3 separate regions of the Homo sapiens genome follow, and all the other regions are linked to region 1. The links are contacts of gene promoters, found by promoter capture Hi-C in blood cells and fetal thymus (Javierre and others, 2016). All regions are on one chromosome and are shown on one strand. Each heading gives the region's core, a stretch centred on a gene start or on the middle of the fragment in contact. The rest is flanking DNA. Distances are from core to core; before and after follow the strand shown.

Region 1 (2,894 bases), core at 263-2,762:
GATCTATGGGTAGAAGCAAAGAATTAAAAAAAAAATCCAAATAGTTTTTCCTACTAAAAAATTGGTGGGAATTCCAGCAGAAGTAGTCAATAGACAGATGCTATCCAGTGAATTGAGAGTCTCAGGTGAACTGGAGACTGGCACATATAGAATCAGAGCCTTAGAGTTGGAAAGATTTCAGAGATGATGCAGTGCAAGCCCCCAGCCATAGACAGAGTCCCTTCAATGTCACACCAGTCCTGCAACTTCTTTTACTTCCACCCTTCTAATTATAGAGAACTGGCTCTTTTACAAGGCTGCCATTTTCATCATTAGAGCCCAGCTGTTATCTGCACTCTTCTTCTTTATTTTAAGGTATTTCCCCGGAATTACTGCACATTAAAATTTTTGACATTTTAGGCTACAGAAATTTTGACTGAATCCTCTTGCTGTACAACAGCCCCCACAACACTTGCTCTCAGGTGTCTCACTTATCTTAAAAGTCCTCTCTTTGTCATACTTCTCTTCAGATGTTTCCAACATGCACCGCCTCTGAAGTTTTTTTGTTCCAGCCATCTCTGTAGGATGAAGAGTAAGTTCTCAGAGTGCCAAGATAGCAAAGTGATGCTTAACACATCATCTGACTAATGAAGAATAATTAGAACATTTATTTTCCATGATCTATTTTTCTATTATTGTAGCTTAATATCATGTTAACTTTTTAAGCAACCATTTCACACTCTTGGTGCCCATTAAAATTTGTAGTCAATTATAATCATTGAATTTTTTTTCTCATGAAGTGTTGCCAAAGTAGATATTTCCCAACCTGCATGTGTGCTAGAGTGTGTGTTAATCTCAGACCTCTCTGTGATCACTGGAAAATCGCTGGCCATAAACCTCACTTTATTAAACTCTAAAATGAGCCTAATAATGTTAGAACCACATGTGAGGTGCTGTAGAAAGTACCATATCTGGTAGATACGTGCTCCTCTTATAAAGAATAGGCTATTTATAACCACTATCTTCTCAAAAGACCGTAGGTGACCAGGCTAATTACCTTTCCAAAAACTAATTTTTAATCCACAGCCTTCCCTTCTCCTTACTCTACTAGAATCCCTGCTTCCAACAATTAAACATCCATCGAATTAATTTTCTTTCCTCTCACACAGGTTGATTGAGCTCTTGACTTTCTTTCTTTCTTTCTTTCTTTCTCTTTCTTTCTTTCCTTCCTTCCTTCCTTCCTTCCTTCCTTCCTTCCTTCCTTCCTTCTTTCTTTCTTTCTTTCTTTCTTTCTTTCTTTCTTTCTTTCCTTCTTTCTTTCTTTTCTTTTCTTTTCTTTTCTTTTTCATTTTGAGCAGCTGGTCAGTTCAAGAAACCCAACCCCTCTCCACCAACCGGAGCCCCGCCCCCTGCCCCCGGCTGGCTGGAGAGTTGAAGGCCAAAGACGGAGAGGAGGGCGCTCGCTGCTCTGCTCCCGGGCCAAAGCGCAGGCTCGGCCTGCCTTATCCAGTGGGACGGCAAAGGGTCACTCTAAAAATTGCTGCAGCCGGGTCTTGTCAGGTGGCTGCTGGTGGCTCCCCACCGGATTTTCCTTCTCCCTCTCTCTATCTCCACAGATCCCTTCCCAAGAGGAGTCTCCTGCTAAAACTTCATCATCTCAAGTTGACCTGCCACTTCACCCAAGGAGGGTAAGGAGCTGGGACCAGAGTCGCCAATTCCTGCCTTCTAGATCCTGGGGTGTGTGTGGATGTGTGGGTGGGAGAGGGTGGGCTGAGTGTTTGTGGTTGTAGAGCTATTTTACTGAAGGGAGTCTACAGCTGGGTCAGGTGGTTCATGTCCCTAATCTGAAGTTGGGAGACAGAAAACATTTTTTTGAAATCTGAGAAATGTAACGTGTTAGGAGAACTTCACGGTAACAAAATGCATGACAATGATGCCCTACAAATGTAAAACCACCTGTAATTTCTAACAAAAATTCTAAATCTCTAAAGCTTAAGATATATTTTTCTTTCACTACTTTATAGAGAAGGAGAAGGAGAGAAAATTCTTAGGCTTTGTTCACAAAGTTTAGAATTCTACCTTTATTTTTATCAAGAATCATTTTAACATTTGTTACTGATCAGTTTGGATGAAATGTTACCAGTTTTAACTAAATCTGTAGCACAAAACTCAGACAACTCTGAATTCCCAGAAATATAACCTATTGATGAAATGGAAATATCCTTCCTAAAAAAAAAAAAAAATTTGTTATTTGGCTAAAAAATAGGTTTTTGTCTTAAATGTGCACATATCATTATGCTGACATATATTTTATATTAAAAATCATGTTGGAAGTGTAATGGTGAAGTGGAAACCACCCCCCTACACCCCACCCCGAGGTTGGACTTAAAATGGCAAGCCACAGAAGCCAGGAGGGTTTCTATTCCTGGAGGTAGGGCTGATGAGCCCCGACAGATGCAGCGATAGGAATGTGGCCAGGACAGGGAGCAGGCGCAGCTGATTCGCCCCTTTGGCAAAAAGACATTCTGGGATCCCAGTTCATACTGGCATGAGAGTGACAGTGACACTTTAGCACACATGGCTTTCCAGTTTACCCTGTTGTGGACTCCCAGGAAGCATGGGTGCAGGGCAGTGGGAAGGAAAATGTTCTCAAATATGAAGTAACAACTCTTTTCTATAACCAGTTCTGGGGGTCTTCATCTGGGATCAGCTGGGGCCAGGAAGAATTTAAGTGCAATACTTTCACATGGACTTGCCCACTTACAGACAAGGGTCCAATTATGTACCATTGCTTGGCAGCATTATTCTCAGTCCAGTCATTTTGGATCTATTTCGGGTTATGGATCTCATGAAAACGCTGAGCCCAGTGTGTGGAAAGTACACATAAACATATGCACACAGTATGTTTCAGACTA
Region 2 (2,894 bases), core at 191-2,690, 580 kb after region 1:
ATTTGCTTTTTCTCCCTACTTGATTTCTCCAAAATTCAGAAACTATTCATATTATTTTTATTTATATAAGTTCAATAAAAATCTAATCCCTTTATATGAGGATACAATTAGAAACATTAGTTATATTACCAAGGCTTTGACTGAAAATGTCATATTTAAGAATGTGCATAAAACATCCGGCTTTAAGAGTTCTCAGCCTTATCGTGAGTAAAACCTGTCACTTCCTAGCAGGCCCAAGAACCTTAAGACCCTAAGTGAAGCCTAAAGTCTACCTCTCTTTGACTTCCTAGCCTCAAGAGATTTTTAAATCTGAAATTCCTATATGATCAATGTAGGAAAAAAACGTTTCTTAAAAAAAAAACTGCAATACACCTGTTGTTATCCACACGTACACCGGACTGTTTGATGAATTCTCCTAGTTTCCTCCAGGATTGGACTACAACACGCCAACTAAAAACAAAAGCTTCTGTTCGTAAAGCCCTTTAAGCTGAAACTATTCAAATTTTAAGAAACAAGTCTCATGCCTGATATATGAGCCACACAACAATATCATGACCAGAGACATTCAAACATAAATCAGGAGGAGAATCTGATGTTTTTGTGAAAGCTGTAGACAGCTTTTCCCATGACATCAGAACCATATCATAAGACTTTTACCCCCACTTAATGCTACTTTTTTCACTTGACAGGATAATGGTGTAATTGAAATTTCATAATCAATAGCTTCTGCTGGTAACTTAACAGAACCTAACCCAAGAAATCCTTTAGTATTCATTGGTTAAAAAAGAAAATATCTGTGCTATTGCTAGTACTACATGCTGTACCTAGATAAATCCCTCTGATAAAGTTGAGACCCATGTACACAAAATAAGAAAACAGGTAGCATGATTACATGGTCTCACCTAATTCCCTGTGGTCACTGGTCTACTCAATTAGTTGTTCTTAAGCCTAGGTTCATGGCTCAAAACCATTATGCAAATTGGAATTGTCATATTACTATTAACTTTGTTACTTGTTAAATTTCTGCAGAAGTACCACACCTAACAATAACGCTGGCCCAGCATTTTGAGTAACAAAGACTATGGAATAGACAAAAATCAAACTTAATAATGGAATCCAGGTAGACACAGCCTGAGAGTCATTCCCTTCAGACGTCCCTTCTTGCCCAAATGTGGCTTAAAAGCATTTTGACACGGACTCCTAGTTGCTAATCATTCTCCCCAACATGGGATGAGACTAGAAACCAGGACTGGTCTATGCTGGTACTATGGGATGTCAAAACCTAACTACAGGATGACTGATCAGAGAAAGATACTGATCAAAAGGGGAAAATGTGAAAGTTGTTAAAATAAAAATGGAGCCACTAATGTTAAGAAAACCCTGACAAAGAGAGCTGAGGAAGGCCATGAAGAGAAGGTTCTCAGGCTTCTATGACTGGTTAACAAAAAAGACTATAAAAAACACAGCTCTGCACAAAGGCCATCACAGCCTTATACAAAAAATATTTTTGCTGCAAGGACATCTGCCCAAGAAACTGTCTGTCCAATCTCAGACTGGCGTCCCCCTTGTTACTGATCTTTGTAGTCAAGGATTAAGTATTTCAAAACAATTATGTAATCCTCATTTTTTCCTTTAAAAACTTTTGTTTCCCTGAATAGTTTACTATGGCATGTGTATTCCCATTGCAATGTATTATTCTCAAATAAATGTCTTTTAGAGAGTCTATCTGCTTATTATTTAGGTTGACATAACAGTGCTAGAGACTCTAGTGGCAATCCACTAGGTGTTTAATAGGTACTTGTTAAATATACTAGCACACAGAATTGTGAAAAAGAGTCTTCAAGAAATTCAAATATTTTATGAAAACTACAAGATTCCAAATGGAATTAATTTAAAAATAATGCATCTGAATTTTAAGAACAAGTTGTTTTTAAAAATTCTATATAAGGACTAAGTATATAGTTTTAGGTTTTACATTTAAGTCTTTAATCCATCTTGATTTGATTTTTGTGTGTCGTGTAAGGAAAGGATCCAGTTTCCATCTTCTGCACATGGCTAGCCGCTTATCTCAGCACCATTTATTGAATAGAGTCCTTTCCCACACATAGCAAAATTTTCAAAATATAGAATAACTTTTAATGAGCCATAAGAAAATGCTAGTGCTGTTTTAATCTAAACCATTACCACAATGAGTTTACAGTTAGTGTAAAAATGACTTGAATATATTTTTCTAATATAACTCTTTTTCCCAAATCAGTTAAGCTAGCATGTAAACTCTATGGTAGTAGTATGGGTTACTACATCTGTCCTACATATTATTCTATACCCTAGAAACCTAGCATATTCTAGCCTTTAAATTCTAAGTTATTTGAGAAAGTTAAGTACAGCTTAGCAAAACTTGTTTATTCTAAGCTTTAACTCAGAACACCAATCAAGTAATTTTATCAGGATTGGCAAAGGACCATCTTTCTTTTCACCATTGCCTCAGTTGTTTAAAAAACAAAAACAAAAACTTAGTACCTGGCACAGATGTAGAATCCTCTGCACACCAGCGACAACTGCTCCAATGATCTGAGGTCCAAGTCACTAGACACCACCCATCGGAAGATGTACATCAGGACCTCCATTGGCAGCACTGCAAAAGAAAATCATCCTTCAGTGACTCTCCTCTATGTCATTCTATTGTCACAACTACATTCCCAGTACATTTATACCTTCCTAGAAATTTATAATCACACCCTCTGTATTGCTCAGAGCTAAAGCATGAATGTATTTAGCTACTCAATAATAATAATGGTTCTTAACATCAAGACATAAATATCTTTGTTTTTTCAGTATAGATCTGAAGCTACTTTTTATAAAGCACTCTTTTCCCTCATAAGATTATTTTGCCA
Region 3 (2,894 bases), core at 292-2,791, 550 kb after region 1:
GGGAGGCCAAGGCGGGTGGATCACTTGAGGTCAGGAGTTCGAGACCAACCTGGCCAACATGGAGAAACCCCGTCTCTACTAAAAATACAAAAATTAGCTGGGAGTAGTGGTGTGCACCTGTAGTCTCAGCTACTTGGGAGGCTGGGAAGGAGAATCACTTGAACCCAGGAGGTGGAGGTTGCAGTGAGGTGAGATTGTGCCACTGCACTCCAGCAAGCCTGGGTGACAGAGCGAGACTCCATCTCAAACAACAACAACAACAACAAACCACTGTTGGGACTATTATTCTGATCTTAATAAAAACGTAGTATGAATAAAATATCCAAAGTAGGGACTTGTTTCACTGCCTATTTAGTATAAAAAGTCATTTATTATTTAGCTTAAGGTGGCAGACCAAATGTATGCCTTTGCTGGAGATCTTAAATGTCAGTAATGAAGTATAAAAAAATGAGCCAAGAGAACATAAGGGGGATAATGAGTGCATCAGAAACGTCGACAAATTTCTGGGAGATGGGAAGTGGATGAAGTGTATATTGATGTACAATGAGGAGCCCCAGAGAAGTGAAATGGAAAGGCAGGACCCTGGAAAGGCTGCGGGCTGATGTCACTGAGCTGAAGGGTAGGAATGAGGAGAGATGGGCACCGGAAACAGGACCAATACTTGAAAGTCTTTCTGCAGATCAACTGCTACCAGTTAGGACTTCACCCAAACATGCATCCCAGGGAATACAAACAGTTAAAAAATAATAAAAATACTAAAAGTAAGACTTGCCTCAAGAGAAATTGAATTAACTATTCTAGGGGAACTGAGGCTTCAACTTGGGTACTTGTTCCCGAGAATAAAGTATTTTGTATTGTTGCATTTTGGAGGTGAAGGTCTAAAGGCACTCTGAAGTGAAGGCTGTCTGACATTTGATCTTGATGCTGGAAACTTTAAAGCCACAGATAAGAAAAGATGGCCCTTGCTGCTATGTAGCTGTGTCCTAAGCCACTTGTGTAGACATAATTATTGGGTTCCAACTTTTTAATTAACTGCAGATAAAATACAAAAGACCCCATAATAGTTCCAGCACAGAATGTCACTGTGGTAAAGATGTAGTTGACAGAGGCAAAAGAGAAAAAAAGTGGAAGAAGATTTGGGTAGGGTCAACACATTTTTGTGTGGGAGGGTATCCAGAGACACTGGCTAAGGATGGAATAATAAACAGTGATTTAATGTTTCTTTAAGTTGCAAAGATGTCTAGTAGAGGCATGGAGAATAATCATACAACAGCATATGACTGCAAAACGTCAAGAAGAAGAAGGTAGAGACAGGGAAAGGAGCAAAAACACAAGTGAGGTAAACCCCATTTTTCATCCTGGGCAATCAATAGAGATCCAGATTTGATACATTAAGAAACTGAGGAATAAGCATGTGATTTAGAATGATCAGGGTTACCTCAGAAAAACCAAAGTCAGAAAAGGTTTAAATTTGCCATGTCTTGGGGAGCATTGGGGGAGGGGCAATAATTTTTAGCATAAACTCTGTGTGTACTATCGTATTTTTTTACCACGTACAAATGATTTTGATCCAAAAATGAAATAAAAATCACTAGATGGACTTATCTTAATGTAAACTGGTCACACATATTTTTAATAGCTTATGTTGTTAGTTGCATATGATTAGTAATATTTGTGGAGGTTGTTTTGTTTTGTTTTGGTAGAAACAGGGGTCTCCCGTGTTGCTCATGCTGGTCTCAAACTCCTGGGCTCAAGGGAGGCTCCCGCCTCAGCCTCCCAAAGCACTGGGATTACAGGCATGAGTCACCACGGCCAGCCACCGTTTGTGTTTACATATAAATAGTAACAGCTGTGCTACTATTCAGTATTTTTCTACAAACAACTACTGACATATTAGCTGATCCCAAGGACACTAATGGCCCTCCATTTAGGGGAGTGCTTTCCTGTTCACTTGTGGGTACTATTTAATTAGGAAATGTGTAAATGAAGAGGACTAAGCTCAGACAGGCAAGGGAGAAGATATTCCTGGCCTTGTCAATGGAGTAGGATAGGGGTGAAGGCAATTGGCTGAGGTGCTGCCAGACTGTATGTGGCCTTGACCCCAGATGGCACCTTAACAGTCATTGCTTTTGTCCACCTGTCTCTGCCATGGAGTCCACAAGGAGGGGTCACAGCTAAGCTGGACTTAGACATCTGGGCTGGGTTGGTAGGTGGAAATGCTGTCTTTGTGGCCAAATGGGTCCTTCCAACCTCCTGGGATGAGTGAGAGAGAGAGAGAGACCTTCAAAAGTAGGGAGAGGGGAGGACTGGGGGAGAAACAGTGGAAACTAAACAATTTAATGTCACGATGAAGGGGAAAAAAAATGGGACAAATTTTAAAAGCAGAACCAACTTCTAAACTTTAATTCTGATGTTCAAAACAGAAAGAATAAAGTTCAGATTCTGACTAGAGTCCCACCCTTAAATTTAGAGCATTGTCCTGGGAAGACAGAATGTGGCAGGCCCTGGGTGATTTTAGTGGTTTATTTGCTCATTCTGCAAATATTTACATAGAAGCCACTTCCACAACAGTTTTTTCTGACCAGGAGAGAAGACACATCCCCATAGAGTTCTTTTCCTAGCTATTTTTTGCCTTGCCAGGAAAAAGTGATTTTGGAATCTAAACATTTCCTGCTAAGCCTTGGGATTTTTGATTTGTCACAGAGCACCTGTGTTCCTTTTGGTTTAAAATAAAATGATATTTGGATTGTAATCTAAAGACATAAGATTTTGGGAGCTGATGGAGGGTAAGATTTAAAAGCCTGAGTGTTCTTGTTTCTTCACCTTCCCTTTGTGGGACTTCATGCCAGCATTTTTCTCTTTGTGAGTACTACAAAAACAGAATTGCTATCCTC

The links. Contacts are between HindIII fragments. The CHiCAGO score rates a contact against its expected background, and 5 or more counts as called.
Region 2: a fragment that was not itself captured here is called in contact with the fragment with the promoter of KLHL31 in region 1 in 1 of 17 cell types (M0 macrophages); the score reaches 5.4 in M0 macrophages.
Region 3: a contact is called between a fragment that was not itself captured here and the fragment with the promoter of KLHL31 in region 1, in 3 of 17 cell types (naive B cells, M2 macrophages and M0 macrophages). The highest score is 9.6, in naive B cells.

Annotation. Positions count from the first base shown.
Region 1 is chr6:53,664,374-53,667,267 of GRCh38, reverse strand. It overlaps KLHL31 (kelch like family member 31), which reads left to right and starts at 1,512. Exons shown (of 3, transcript NM_001003760.5): 1 at 1,512-1,667. The HindIII fragment of the contact is 2,006 bases long and covers 1-1,972 here.
Region 2 is chr6:53,082,245-53,085,138 of GRCh38, reverse strand. FBXO9 (F-box protein 9) reads right to left here. Exons shown (of 13, transcript NM_033480.3): 7 at 2,521-2,635. Among named protein-coding and RNA genes, the nearest start is that of FBXO9, 18 kb to the right of the region's middle. The HindIII fragment of the contact is 1,949 bases long and covers 466-2,414 here.
Region 3 is chr6:53,119,185-53,122,078 of GRCh38, reverse strand. No RefSeq gene overlaps it. Among named protein-coding and RNA genes, the nearest start is that of GCM1, 28 kb to the left of the region's middle. RefSeq lists an enhancer at 1,623-2,122 and a silencer at 1,994-2,288. The HindIII fragment of the contact is 9,228 bases long and covers 1-2,894 here.